Linked DNA regions of Homo sapiens: region 2 is linked to region 1. The links are contacts of gene promoters, found by promoter capture Hi-C in human tissues and cell types (Jung and others, 2019). All regions are on one chromosome and are shown on one strand. The core of a region is centred on a gene start or on the middle of the fragment in contact, and the rest is flanking DNA. Distances in the headings are between cores, read along the strand shown.

Evidence for each region. Contacts are between HindIII fragments. The study calls those that stand out against the background at their distance.
Region 2: a contact is called between a fragment that was not itself captured here and the fragment with the promoter of KIAA1614 in region 1, in 1 of the 25 tissues and cell types used here (bladder).

The regions. Positions count from the first base shown.
Region 1 is chr1:180,908,182-180,915,361 of GRCh38, reverse strand. KIAA1614 reads right to left here and starts at 2,465. Exons shown (of 9, transcript NM_020950.2): 1 at 2,069-2,465. The coding sequence starts at 2,118. LINC02816 (long intergenic non-protein coding RNA 2816) reads right to left here. Exons shown (of 4, transcript NR_185877.1): 2 at 7,071-7,159; 3 at 6,591-6,670; 4 at 1,306-6,489. RefSeq lists a silencer at 2,370-2,669. The HindIII fragment of the contact is 13,277 bases long and covers 1,138-7,180 here.
Region 2 is chr1:181,038,878-181,046,057 of GRCh38, reverse strand. The region is part of intron 1 of MR1 (major histocompatibility complex, class I-related); the gene reads right to left. Among named protein-coding and RNA genes, the nearest start is that of MR1, 8.5 kb to the right of the region's middle. RefSeq lists a silencer at 1,015-1,164 and enhancers at 1,216-1,455, 1,576-1,715. The HindIII fragment of the contact is 4,523 bases long and covers 1,238-5,760 here.

The sequences.
Region 1 (7,180 bases), core at 1,216-3,715:
CCAAGGGGAGCCAATGAGGATGATAGACATCAGGAAGACACCAAGCAGGATCTGACCTCCAGTAGAAGGTGCTGCATCCAACCTCACCCCTGACCCCTGATGCACAAGCCACAGGACCACAGCATGGGGTTGAGCTCAAAGGGAGACCTTGACCAGTCAGGAACGCCGATTAGGCATCTGCTCTATGCCAGGCGGGACTGCAAGTGCTTTCAAACACACTCCCCCCAATAATCCTGTCCCTAACACAATGGCATTATTGACCAGGAGCGGTGGCTCACACCTGTAATCCCAGCATTTTGGGAGGCTGAGGCGGGTGGATCACTTGAGGTCAGGAGCTCGAGACCAGCCTGGCCAACATGGTGAAACCCCCTCCTCCATTAAAAATACAAAAAATTGGCTAGGCGCGGTGGCTCACACCTGTAATCCCAGCACTTTGGGAGGCCGAGGCGGGTGGATCCTGAGGTCAGGAGTGCTGCTCACCTGTAGTCCCAGCTACTCAGGAGGCTGAGGCAAGGTAATTGCTTGAACTCGGGAGGCAGAGGTTGCAGTGAGCCAAGATTGCACCACTGCACTCCAGCCTGGGCGACAGAGCAAGACTCTGTCTCAAAAATAAAAAAAATAAATAAAAATAAAAAATACAAAAAATTAGCTGGGTGTGGTGGCAGGTGCCTGTAGTCCCAGCTACTTGGGAGGCAGAGGCAGGAGAATCACTTGAACCCAGAAGGCGGAGGTTACAGTGAGGCGAGATCCCGCCACTGCACTCCAGCCTGGGCGATAGAGCGAGACTCTGTCTCAAAAAAAAGAAAAGAAAAGAAAAGAAAGAATGGCTTTATTATATACTTCTACAGATGGAGAAACTGAGGCACAGATTACAATACACAGGTGCTAAGAGGAGGCCCAGTTTGGAAACCAAAGCTTCTCATTCCAAGCCCAGGCCTTTTCCAAAACATGTAGTGATCACTTAACCCTACTCCCCTTATTCTGTAAATGATAATGTTCCATCCCCAGAGGCTAGGTGGCTTGTCAGCGCTGCACAGATCCTTAGCAGCATGGCTGATGTTTATCCCTTCACAAGGAATGAAGGTGAGCAGGGGTTTGACTCAGGGTGTTGCATGCATATCTACATGCCACAGCGTTTTAATATTGATTCTACCTTCTGAGAAAAATACAACTTTAATATCACACATCTAGATGTCCCCCCCCCCTTGAAGTAAACTTTGTGCATAAAAATCCTTATGTGTATACACTACAAATTAGGAGTTATCCACTTCGTAACACGGACCAAGTATTCACCATAAAATTCTCTTAAATGGCAAGTCTCTCTGTAGTCGTTTATTACAATTCAATTTATACACAAGCTTTCAGGAATGCACATATTTTATAAAGCAAAATACACATATAATGCGAAATGTCACACCAGTTTTAAGCCAGTAAAGTTTAAGGATTATCTTTAGGAGGACAGAAATAATTTGTTCTATGAGTTAATCTAGAATGCAGCAAGTTTCTCTTTGCATCTCCTTCTTCTCCTCTAAAGTCCAATCCAGAAAACAGGGGATTAGAATGTAATATGAGCAATTTCTGTTAAGTTAAAATAACTTTTTGTTTTTGGGGAGGCTGAAGCCAGAGGAGGCCGGGCTTGAGCCCGGGAGGTCGAGGTTGCAGTGAGCCATGATCGCACCACTGCACTCCAGCCTGGGCGACAGAGCGAGACCCTGGCTCCAAAAAATTAAAGTAAGAATTGTTGATGGGTAAACTCTGGAACAGCACGCCAGAGACCTTAAAGAATGAGACCCTCCCACTGGAGTCCCCTGGGCACGGGCTTTCGGGAAGATCGGTCAGCTCGGAGCTGCCTGGTTCTATGGCCCAAGCACTGTGATGTATTTCCCCTAACTCAGAGGGGCCAAACGAAGATGGACGTGAAGGGCGGGCCTCCCCACGACCCTTCCAGCTCCGAGCCCGTGGGAGGCCCGCTTCCCAGTGGCCGGGGCGACCTGGGCTCCCCGCTCCTCCGCCCCGCCGGTCCGCCACCCCCGCCCGGCCGGCCCGGCGCTGCCTCCTCTATACTCACTGGGGGCTGCCGCCCGCGGGTTTGGCCGCCGCCGCCTCTGTCCCCTCCATCCCTCGGAGAGGCCAGGCCCTCTCCAGCCCCTTCTCCCTCCCAGGCCAGCTGCTGGGTTCGGGGAGGGACTTCCAGCCCCGAATCCGGGGCCGGAGGGAGTGCGGCCCGCAGGCCTCGCCCCTCGGGGCGCGGCCGACTGGGGGTCCGGGACGGCGCCGAGGCCGGGCCAGCTCCCGGCTCTGCTGGCAGCCCCCGGGCCCCGGGTGGGTCTGGCCGGCGCAGCGCCCCACGGGCCGCACTCCCTCCCGGCGAGAGGACGGGAAGCGGGGTCGGGCAGGGAGGGCGCTGGCAGGGAAGGAAGTGGCATCAGCTGTCCGTTCACGGCTTTGCCGTGGAGGGGAAGAGCGGCCAAGCCCGCGCCTTCCCGGCCCGCGCTGGGCAGAGGGAGCCGAGCGCGGAGAGGTGGGGCCGCGGGAGGGGCTGGAGGAGCCGGGCCTCGGCCTCCCACCCCGCCCGGAGCCCCGCGGGGCCGCCTCTCCTGAGCCGCGGCCCAGGGAGCGAGTGTCCCCGGCCGTCAGAGGCGCGGGATGGAAGTCCAGGGCGGCCCCGAGCTTGGGGACGACGGGGCGGCCGCCAGCCTCGCAGGGCGGTGGCCCCTTCCCCGCGGGAAAGCGGGCGCAAGAGCGGAGGCGCGCGGGGCGCACGGAGGCCGGGGAGCGCGGGCAGGAGCTGGGGGCGCACCACGTTCTCGGCGGGCTCCGCGCGCCGCTGGTAACCCTACACCCAGGGCTCGCCTTTCGGGGTGGAAGCTGAGGAATGCCTTTTGTGTGGACAAGTTTTCCAGAGGAGCCGGCCGCCCTCTCTGTGGGGCCGTCCATCGCTCCGTAGAGCCGTTTCCTCCGAGGTCAAGGTCGTTGGTTCCCGCTCTCCAGAGGCGTGAGGGAAACCCGGAGGGAACGCGCTCCGCGCATCCCGTCTGCCGCGGTGCCGGAATTGCCCGCCGCCGCCTTGGGTGGGGACCGGTTCTCAGGGTCCTGGGGGCTCTCGAGCAGATCACTTTCCCCAGCGCGGGACGGGGGTCGCAACCAGGGGCATTCCCTGCAGCCGCGGCCCAAACCGACGGAGCTTGCTTTCTCCTTCCACCCAGAGGGGGTGACCGAGCCTCACCTATTTCCAAGCCTATTTTTTCACAAAGACGGGAAGCAATAAAAGTGGCCTCAGGAGATTCCGGAAATCTCTACAAAGAGAAAGTGCCCGTTCATCTTTCCTTCAGCCGACTGGCTTCACTGTGAAGCATGGGGTAGTTGTGCACCTCCAGATGACAGGACAGACACAGCAACAGTAAGGGCCGCGCAATATGTACCGGGGCAGGGGAGGAGGGGAAGGAAGTTTTCTAGAGGGGCTGCCTCTTGAGTCAGGAGGGGGTTACTCTGCACAAGGTGGGGGAAGGGGCGTCTGGCAGGGCAACAGGAGAGCGGAGCCTGGGGAGCTGTGAGTGGACTGGCGTCTTGGCAATCTAGGAGCTTGAGAGATTATCCAGTGCAAACCCTCTGTGTCACAGTACAGGCCCAAGGTTACGTCAGAGGCTTCGAACCAGAGCGACTCCATCTTGTGTGAGGGCGAGGAAAATGAGGCTGGGACTTGCTGGGCCACATTCCCAGTGAGTTAGCTATACCCAGCTTCTAGATATTTACGGTTAAGAGAACAAATTAATAACGTTTGCTAAACAGACCCAGACTTAGGAGTGTCCTGATATCCTGATATCTTGAGAACAGACTCATTTGTAATTATGCTTTAAAGTTAATAATATCGATTATTGCAAAATATAGTAACTAAGAAAATTAATCCTTTATCACAAACCCTTGTAGCACAGCACATCTCCCCATGATCCTTTTTTATCCTGTGTAAGCGAGTATTGTACCCAGGGTGGATGCGTTCCTCCTCGTACTTTCCAGAACTCCCTCCTCTGTCTATGGAGTAGCTGTACTTTCACCACTTTACTTTCTTACTAAACTTGCTTTTGCTTTGCACTGTGAACGCACCTTGCTTTTTTTTTTTTTTTTTTTTTTTTGAGACAGAGTCTTGCTCTGTTGCCCAGGCTGGAGGGCAGTGGGGCGATGGATTCTCCCACCTCAGCCTCCTGAGTAGCTGGGGCTATAGACATGCACCACCACGCCTGGCTACTTTTTGTATTTTTAGTAGAGATGGGGTTTCACCATGTTGCCCAGGATGGTCTCGAACTCCTGGCCTCAAGTGATCCACCTGCCTCGGCCTCCCAAAGTTTGGGATTACAGGCATGAGCCACCACGCCCAGCCTTGCCCTGAATTCTTTCTTGCGAGAGATGCAAGAACCCTTTCTTGTGGTCTGGATTGGGACACCTCTCCTGTAGCAGTTACACAGCTCTGGTGACAGGTGGTCTCCAGGGTCCTGGGTGGCCTCTTCCCTCCCCGAAACTCACCATGTTCCCAGAACAAGAAGTTCCTTTAACAAAGCATTGACTGCTTTTGCTTTTTAGTATTGATCGCTTCACAGAGTGGTGCCTGCACTATTTGCAGTGGGCATACTGGCACCAGGCATTGGCTAAGCAGTTTAAATTCATTATCTCGTATTTCAGCCTTAAGAAGTAGGCAGTGGCTATTGTCTCCTTTTCTTTTTTTTTTTTTTTTTTTTTTTTTGAGACGGAGTCTCGCTCTTTCACCCAGGCTGGAGTGCTGTGGCGCTATCTCGGCTCACTGCAAGCTCCGCCTCCCAGGTTCACGCCATTCTCCTGCCTCGGCCTCCCAAGTAGCTGGGAATACAGGTGCCCACCACCGTGCCTGGCTAATTTTTTGTATTTTTAGTATAGATGGGGTTTCACCGTGTTAGCCTTGATGGCATCGATCTCCTGACCTCATGATCTGCCCGCCTGGGCCTCCCAAAGTGCTGGGATTACAAGTGTGAGCCACCACGCCTGGCCTATTGTCTCCTTTCTATAGACACTGAGTGTAAGTGAACGCCCCAGGATCCACAGCTGGGTAAGCTGTAGTCCAGCCTCCTAGAGTCCAGGCCCTCATGCCAGTACACTGCACAGTGCTGTCGCCAGCATCTGCCTGTTCAACATGGAAAGATTTAGTTTAAAAAAAAATCAAAAGATTTGTGAAAAAAATCATGAAGTGCTGTGATACTGAAAATGTGCTGGCACAGTGGCTTGGCCCTTCCTGGCTTTCTTATTCCTGCCGTCTAAGTTAAAAGCCCCTCAAGACTCCTTCTTCTCCTGCATGCCCAGTGTTAAGCCTGACAGCAGCAACACTGTTACTATTATTGGGGGCATCCTATGAGCTAAGGTACCCCACATAGGATCTTTTGCATCTTTACAACAACCATGCAAAATAGGTATAGTGTATCTCCACTTTAGTGATAAAGAAATCGAGCTGCAGAGAGGTTAAGTAGCTTGCCCAAGGCCACACAGCTAGTATAGCTAGAATCTGAACCCAGCTCTGTCTGGTTCCAAGATTTTCTGCCTTGCTTCCTCTTTTATAGAGGCACCTCTGAATTCAGACTCCACGGCTTCTGCTCCCACCCTCCCCCAGAAGTTAATGATCTATAAGGAAAGTTTCTGAAAGTTCCAGCAAAGGTTTAATGTTTAAAGAAAACCTGCCTCCCCCCAATCTTTTGAGATGCAAATAATCACTTTCAGTTTATTTGGGTTAAAGTTTTTTTTGTTTTTTTGTTTTTTGTGCGAGGGGAGTAGGGTGTTACATCTATATTGAGGCCTTAAAAGCCACCTGTCCTAAAGATACCCATGAGCACGAGCAAACCCTTAGAATGCTGTTGAATTGTGACATCTACATGTCGAGGGCATTCTTGTTCATCTGGATTCTGTTTGATTTAGCAGATATATGTTGAGCTCCTAGATATGTCAGAGACTGCAGAGACAAAATTTAGCACCACAGACCCTACTTTTGAGGAACTGGGGAGTTGGGGAGGGGCAGGCACACAAACTTTCTATATATGTGCTCCCAACCAGGTCAGCATAAGGTGGTGTAGGTTGCTCACAGAAAAGGCTAGATTGAGGGGTGTGTGTTGGGTGAGAAGGGGTACCACGGAGAACTGGGTCTTGGAGAATGAGCAGGAATTAGCCAGACAGAGGGGGAGGGGTGAGAGAAGACGTTTCAGGTAAAGAGATGAGCATAGATGCAGGCTCGGAGGTGTGAAACTGCCTGGTTTCAGTGTTACTAAGTGTAAAATTTAACCCAGGAAAGACAGGGGAAGGATGAGGTTGCAGAGCAGGGGAGGTTGGGTCTGGTGAGGAGCTTGGACCCCACCCTGTGACTGGCAGCCCCTCGGGTGTGGTCTTGACCAACACCTTAGCCCTTGAGCTGGGCACATAACCATCTTATTTATTTCCTTATGCGTCAGACACTTTCATTATCATCTTCTGGAGGGAGTTCTAGGAGGAAAACAAATACAATGTAAACAGTGATCACAAAGCCCCTTCCTCTGCTGAACAACTAGGGAAATGGACCATCCCAAGAAGCCCCTTTGACTTACTGTGAGTGAAAACACAAGCCTCATCCTTCCTCCCAACTTTCCAATGTGCTCTGAACGTTGGAAATACGGCGCCATGTGAGCTGTGGAAACCAGGTTTCACTCAGGATGAAGGGAAAAGTGAGGGAGATGGTCCTTCCAACTCACACCATTAGAGCAAAGTGGGGCAGAAATGGGGTGGGGGCACACTTCTACCATCCCTCGACTGTCCAGCCTAAAGGAGCTTGTCCAAATGGAAACCTGCATTTCCTGGTGGCTCCTGTCTTGCTCATGGGAACATGGTCCAAGGAGGCAACTGATCTGAGCAGCAACTGCTGAGGATCCCATTGCCAGCCCCAGGCCTGCCCTCATCACTTCCTCCAGCAGAGGAGCGAGGGCGCGTGCAGGGTCTACCATGTAGCTGCTTCCCCCCTCCCAAAACCCTCCCGCGGCTCCCCTGTACTCCCCACCGCGCTGCTGGGAAGGCTGATTCTGAGGCCTCACCTATGCAGATTCGGGTTCCTTAGGTTGGAGCAAGGCCCAGGAACCTGTTTCCTTCCAGGATTCCCAGGTGATGTTGAGGCCCGGTCAGTCTGGGGAAGCACAGGGCCTCG
Region 2 (7,180 bases), core at 2,250-4,749, 130 kb before region 1:
AGCTAAGGCCCGGCGAGAAATCGAGCTGCAGCGCTGGTGGGCTGGCACTTCTGGGGGACCCAGTACACCCTCCGCAGCCGCTGGCCCGGGTGCTAAGCCCCTCATTGCCCGGGCCGGCAGGGCCGGCTGCCCCCAGTGCAGGGCCCGCCAAGCCCACGCCCACTTGGAACTCCAGCTGGCCCGCAAGCGCCGCCCGCAGCCCGGGTTCCCGCTCGCGCCTCTCCCTCCACACCTCCCTGCAAGCTGCGGGAGCGGGCTCCGGCTTTGGCCAGCCCAGAAAGGGGCTCCCACAGTGCAGCGGTGGGCTGAAGGGCTCCTCAAGTGCCGCCAAAGTGGGAGCCCAGGCAGCGGAGGCGCCAAGAGCGAGCTAGGGCTGTGAGGACTGCCAGCACGCTGTCACCTCTCAGTGTTATGGGATCCAAGCTGGTGTGGGCCCTTAGGAGAGACTTCCAGAGAAGGTGATGTCTTAGGGAGGTCTCAGGGACAGGTAGGAGGTGAGTAGGCAGAGGGGCTGGGAGGGGATGCAGGAGGGCGGGCAGGGGGAGCAGGGCAGAGACCACATGTGCAAGCAGGAGGTTCGAGAAGGCGGGGCGTGCATGGGAACCAAATGGCCTGGGACGTCTGGAGCACAGTGACAGGCGTCACGGGCAGAGGCGATGCCTGGGAGGTGGAGCCCAGGCTGAGAAGGCTACGTACCCCATGCCATCCCCAAAAGCTGGCAAATAGAAGGTATGCAGCCACAATGGCTTTCTTCCCCTACTCTGCCTGCCGGTGTCTGCAGATGCCCATGTCCAAGCCTTTTGTCCTGTTATCTCCTGCCATTCTGACCCATCTAAATCCTTCCCAGTCCTCAAAACCCACCTCCAAAAACATTTCATCCCTAAAACAGGATCATCCCTAAAATTTCATGGCTAAATTGAGATGACAGATGGAGGCTCACATACCAGAGATCCAGATATTTAAAAGGAATAAATCAATCTAACAAACTTGAAATATGTTCTATCCCCCCACCTTGAGAGATTGCCCTTTGTATGGCTTCGAAGACCAAGTTCAAATTAAAAAATCTCACACTGTGTGAAGTTCTGGGCCTGAATGGGGCGGCACAGAGAAAGCTGGTGTCTCCCTCCAGTCCCCGGCCCTCAGCCTGAGACTCACCTCTTTTTCTTCCTGTTTCTTGCTCCTTCCAGCACTGCCAAGGGCCTCCCACAATTAAACACCTCTACTTTTTTATTCAGGCTCAGCCACAAACTGCCTCTTGTCTGAGCTTGTCCTGGGCTTAAGTGATCCTCCCACCTCTTGGCCACCCCTCAGGCCTAGCAAGGCCCTCAAGGGCAGCCAGTCCACCTTTAGGAGGATGGGCCAAAGTGCGAGTTTGTTGTGTAAACCTCAGCAGCTCTGAGTCAGCTGAGTGGGGAACTCCAGGTTCCTGGGTGCCTGGAGTCTGGTCTAGAGTGGAGGGGCCCAGACACAGGGTTACCACCTCCCCTCAGCCTCACGCACTCCTCGCTCTGTGGGAAAGGATGTGGGTAGCAGAGGGCCAGAGTGGGGCTCTCTGAATGTGGGGCCATATCCAGGGGCTTCTCTTGCCTGTGTCTAAGAGCTGTACTACACAACACTTCCCCAGTCTTTCCAGATTGCCCACCCTGCTGCTGCCATCACCTTTAGGACCTCCCCTACATTCAGATCTTCTAACCTGGCCCTTGCCACTATAGAGAATCTTGCAAGGGTGAATACCACTTAATGATATTCATTCCTTCCTCCTCATTTATAAGCATATAGTTAAGAAAAAAGATCAGGCCGGGCGCAGTGGCTCACGCCTGTAATCCCAGCACTTTGGGAGGCCGACGCGGGCGGATCATGAGGTCAGGAGATCGAGACCAACCTGGCTAACATGGTGAAACCCCGTCTCTACTAAAAATACAAAAAATTAGCCAGGCGTTGTGGCAGGCACCTGTAGTCCCAGCTACTTGGGAGGCTGAGGCAGGAGAATGGTGTGAACCCGGGAGGCGGAGCTTGCAGTGAGCCAAGATCACGCCACTGCACTCCAGCCTGGGCGACAGAGTGAGACTCTGTCTCAAAAAAAAAAAAAAAAAAAAGATCAGACAAAAAAAAAAAATCAGCTCACAAAATAGTTGGATTAGCTTCTGTGCTACAAGTTTGTTTATATTTTTCTTTTCTCTAAAACTGCTTATGAAATAACTCATAATGTGCAGGTTATCTTTCAGAACTGACCACCCCAAGGCCAGGGTACCCTTACCTTGCATACTAGGAAAAACAAGAGGCCCTGAGAGGTATCTCCCAGAGCAACTGATTGTACTAGTTAGTGTATGTATGTGTGTGCATATGTGTGTGTGTGTATGACAGGGTTTTACTCTGTTGCCCAGCTGGAGTGCAGCGGCATGATCACAGCTCACTGTAGCCTTGAATTCCTGGGCTTAAGTGGTCCTCTCACCTCAGCCTCCTGAGTAGCTGGGATTATAAGCACGTCACCACTTCTTTTTAATAGAGACAGGGTCTGTGTTGCCCAGGCTGGTCTCAAATTCCTGGCCTTAAGTGATCCTCCCACTTTGGCCTCCCAAAGTGCTGGGATTAGAGATGTGAGCCACCACGCCCAGCAATTAAAATCATTGTTAGCACTTCTTTCTCCTTGCTCCTGGAGCTGGGGTGTAGCAGTTTGGCAGGGTTCAGAGTAGGTATCCCCGCCCCATGGGCTCCTCCCTCACAGGTGTTATCCTGCATGTCAGCTGCAATACTGAACAGGATGGAGGCTGGCCTCCCACAGGCTGGGGCAGCATAAGGTCCCAATGTCCCTCTGTATTGCTTTGACCTTTTACTTCCCCCTTCCCTTCCTGTGGTGGGTGAGGGCTTGGGTTGGGAGGGAAGACAGTGGAAGCCTCTGGGGTAGTCATGAGAGCCTCTTCATAAAAGTGTTGGTTCTTATGCAAACAAGAGCCAGAGATTGCATCAGAGCATGAGTTCTGTCGTAAAACCAATAGCTACCAGATTCTGCCTTCTGTTTCCCTCTGCTTACTACCTTCTACCTGCTTCTCAATCTTAAAGCACTTAAGAACAGGGACTTTGCTTTTTTCCTTTGTATTTCCTGCAAAGCTTAGCACAGGGAGCTTGGCACATGGTAGTAGCTTGGTAAATATTGGGTGAATTAAATTGTTGGTGAAACACTTTATTTCTGTGGTTTGGAATAATGAAATATGCTGAAATGAATATGAATCTATTTAACCTGGATCTTTTTTGAGACAGAGTCTCATTCTGTCGCCCAGGTTGGAGTGCAGTGGCGTGATCTCGGCTCACTGCGGCCTCTGCCTCCCTGCTTCAGGCAATTCTCCCTGCCCCAGCCTCCCAAGTAGCTGGGATTACAGGTGCCCACCATCACGCCTGGCTAATTTTTGTATTTTTTTTTAGTATAGACGGGTTTTTGCCACGTTGGCCAGGCTGGTCTTGAACTCCCGACCTCAGGTGATCTGCCTGCCTTGGTCTCCCAAAGTGCTGGGATTACAGGCGTGAGCCACCGCACCTGGCCTAAAAAATATTTTTGATTTGGCCGGGCGCGGTGGCTCACGCCTCTAATCCCAGCACTTTTGGAGGCCGAGGTGGGTGGATCACCTAAGGTCAGGAGTTCAAGACCAGCCTGACCAACATGGAGAAACCCCATCTCTACTAAAAATATAAAATTAGCCAGGCATGGTGGCGCATGCCTGTAATCCCAGCTACTAGGGAGGTGAGGCAGGAGAATCGCTTGAACCTGGGAGGTGGAGGTTGTGGTGAGCCGAGATCGCGCCACTGCACTCCAGCCTGGGCAACAAGAGCGAGACTCCATCTCAAAAAAAAAAAAAAAAAAATTATCTTTGATTCAAGGGAAGGCTGGTGAATGGAGAGTTGAACTGCAATCTGGGATCTGCAAAGGGTACTATATATATTCTGCAATTGATTTTGAAATAGTTCTATTTTTTCACATCTGGAAAGTTTTGTGGCTACACTGGAGGTACACAACTGTCTAAAGAAGGAGGACCCAAAAGGAGGAACAAGTTGTGAATATTAGTTCTCACACTTCCTTAATATTGATTTGTATATCCAATGCTTCTTCTGTGCCAGCCACTCTTCTAGGCCCTAAGCTTGTACCAGACCAAACAGATAAAAATGTCTGCCCTCATGGAGTCTACACCCTAGTCGGGGGAAGGGGAGAAGACAGACTAGAAAATAAAATATATAATTTTTTTAAAGTACAGTGAAGAAAAATAAAACTGCAAAGAGGAATGGGCAACACTATTTAAAAAAGGAAGGCGTATTAAGGAAGGTTTCCCACAAAGCTGAATTCTGAGCAAGTGCCTGCAAGGAGTTGGGGAGACAGGCAGGTGTCTGGGGACAGCAGTCTGGACAAGAAGGGCCATGCAAAGGCCCCTGGAAAGAACATGCCTGGCACATTCCAGGAGCAGCACAAAGGCCTGTGGCTGGAGTTGAGGGAGTGAGGGGAAAAGAAAGAGGGAGGAATCACTTCCATAGTTTTTCATGGGAAAAAATCCCCACGGAGAGCAGACTCCAGACAGAGAATGTGGAGAGGAGAAAAAAGAAGGAAGAAAAAAAGATGCTGTGTTGCTGAGCTAAGCTGGGTTGGTGTAGAACATCCCCTGGAATCTGGGTTTTCTATTTTTATGATCTCTGAGGTCTACATTCCTGATAGATGCCAACAAGCAAAAAAACCTCCAGTATTAACAACTTGGGGCATTAGTGCCCAATAGCAGGATTTATTCCAGTTAAGTATCACCAGCATCATCTCCAAACATAATATTTACAATTCATGTAACTTTGCTTTCTTATAAAAATGTAATTTTCACAAGAATTTGCATTATCTGAAGTTAAAAGAGGTAGATAGAGAGAAATATGGTCTGTTGACAATACTGTCCAAGTAAGTATTGTGCTTTATTTATTTATTTATTTATTTATTTATTTATTTATTTATTGAGACAGAGTCTCACTCTGTCACCCGGGCTGGAGTGCAGTGGCACAGTCTCTGCTCACTGCAACCTCTGCCTCCCAGGTTCAAGCGATTCTCCTGCCTCAGCCTCCCAAGTAGCTGAGATTACAGGCGCCTGCCACTACACCCAGCTAATTTTTTTATTTTTAGTAGAGATGGGGTTTCACCACGTTGGCCAGGCTGGTCTTGAACTCCTACCTCATGATTCCCCCTGCCTTGGCCTCCCAAAGTGCTGGGATTACAGACATGAGCCACCGTGCCTGGCTGTGTCTTTCTTTCTTTCTGGGTTTTTTTTTTTTTTAACTTCAATCTAATTCTGATGCCTGGTTTTGAAACAGTTGTTCTCCACCAGCCAGCCTTGACTTCAAAGTCCAGGCACCTAAAGGCTGGACTTGCTTTTTCAGTCACACCCATCCACCACTGGTTCAGCCCAGCGTGGCTCTGCTCCAGGACATCACAGTCCCTTCCTCTTCATTTGCCATGGGCCCAGTTACCCATCTGGTGCCTCCACAGGAACAAGTCATGCTTGCTCCTTAGCTGGGCCTTTAAAATGTTACCTCTGCTGTGGTGGGAAGTTGATTGACACATGTTCAGTCAGTAACTCACAACAGAAAAGATGAGGAAAAGTCCAGGTACCCTCTCTCTCCTAGTACATTAAAACTTGTGATAATTTATATCCCACCAGGATTTGTTGCAGACATAATCAGATTTCGAATCATTTGGAAAGGCCAATATTTTACCATTTTTGACCTATAAAAATGGCAATTTCATATCATTTGATCTAATCTTCCATTTCTCTTTTCTCGCCCTAATAATTTTGAAATTAAGTCTCTCTCTCCCTTTCCATGAACAGATAGATCATCAGCATCAACTCACTTATTAAGCTGAAATATACAATTTAGAATTTGGTATTCTGTCTAAACCAGTCAAGCTACTTCTCAAAAGGCATCTCCTGCCCAGTCTCATCAGCTTCTGACAGATAGTGCTGGAGAACCCGAACGACACAACCAAAAACTCTTAGGCTAGGTGCAATGGCTACTTGATAGTTCTAAATCATGTTCCCTTTAACCTGTCCATTAACCAGTTGGGCCATTCTTACAAAAGGCTGTGAAAATCACTGGATTGTAAAATAATTGATGAAGTGTTTTCACTTCATCCATGAGGGCAATTTTTCTTTTCTTTTTTCTTTTTTTTTTTTTTTTGAGATGGAGTCTCGCTCTGACACCCAGGCTGGAGTGCAGTGGCATGATCTTGGCTCACTGCAACCTCTGCCTCCTGGGTTCAAGCAATTCTCCTGCCTCAGCCTCCAGAGTAGTTGGGATTATAGGCGCCCACCACTACACTCAGCTAATTTTTGTATTTTTAGTAGAGACAGGGTTTCACCATGTTGGTCAGGCTGGTCTCGAACTCATGACCTCAGGTGATCCACCCACCTCAGCCTCCCAAAATGTTGGGATTACAGGCGTGAGCCACCGCGCCCGGCCTCATGGGGGCAATTATTTATTTAGTGTCTACTATGTACAAGGAATTGGAGGCAATGTTAGGAAGAGAAGAACAAATCAAATACCAGCTCTTTCCTCCAGGAACTTACAGTATTATTGGGGAGCTAAAGCACATAACAAATAAATGAATTCCACCACACACGGCAACAAGCAGCAAGCGCCAGAAAAGAGTACCAATGGAGTGCTCCAGCCACTAGGAGAAGAGAGACCGTGGTCCCATGAGAAGGGATCCACTGGGAAATGTTCCAAGGAGGTGGCAGATCAGATGGGCCTTCAATGAGGCATAAAGGGCAGCAGCATCTTAATCATAGTCATCACAACTGTATTTGTTTATTGAGCACATACCTTGTGTTAGGTACCATTTTAAGCCCTTGATAAGCATGGGTTTCACTTATTCTTCTAACAAACTTTTGAGGTAGGTCTTATAATTCCAACCCACAGATAGAAAATAGGTGCAGAGAGGCCGGGTGTGGTGGCTCATGCCTGTAATCCCAGCACTTTGGGGGGCCAAGGCAGGCGGATCACCTGAGGTCAGGAGTTCAAGACCAGCCTTGCCAACACGGAGAAACTCTGTCCCTACTAAAAATGCAAAAAATTAGCTGGGTGTGGTGGCGCATGCCTGTAATCCCAGCTACTTGGGAGGCTGAGGCAGGAGAATCGCTTGAACCCAGGAGGCGGAGGTTGTAGT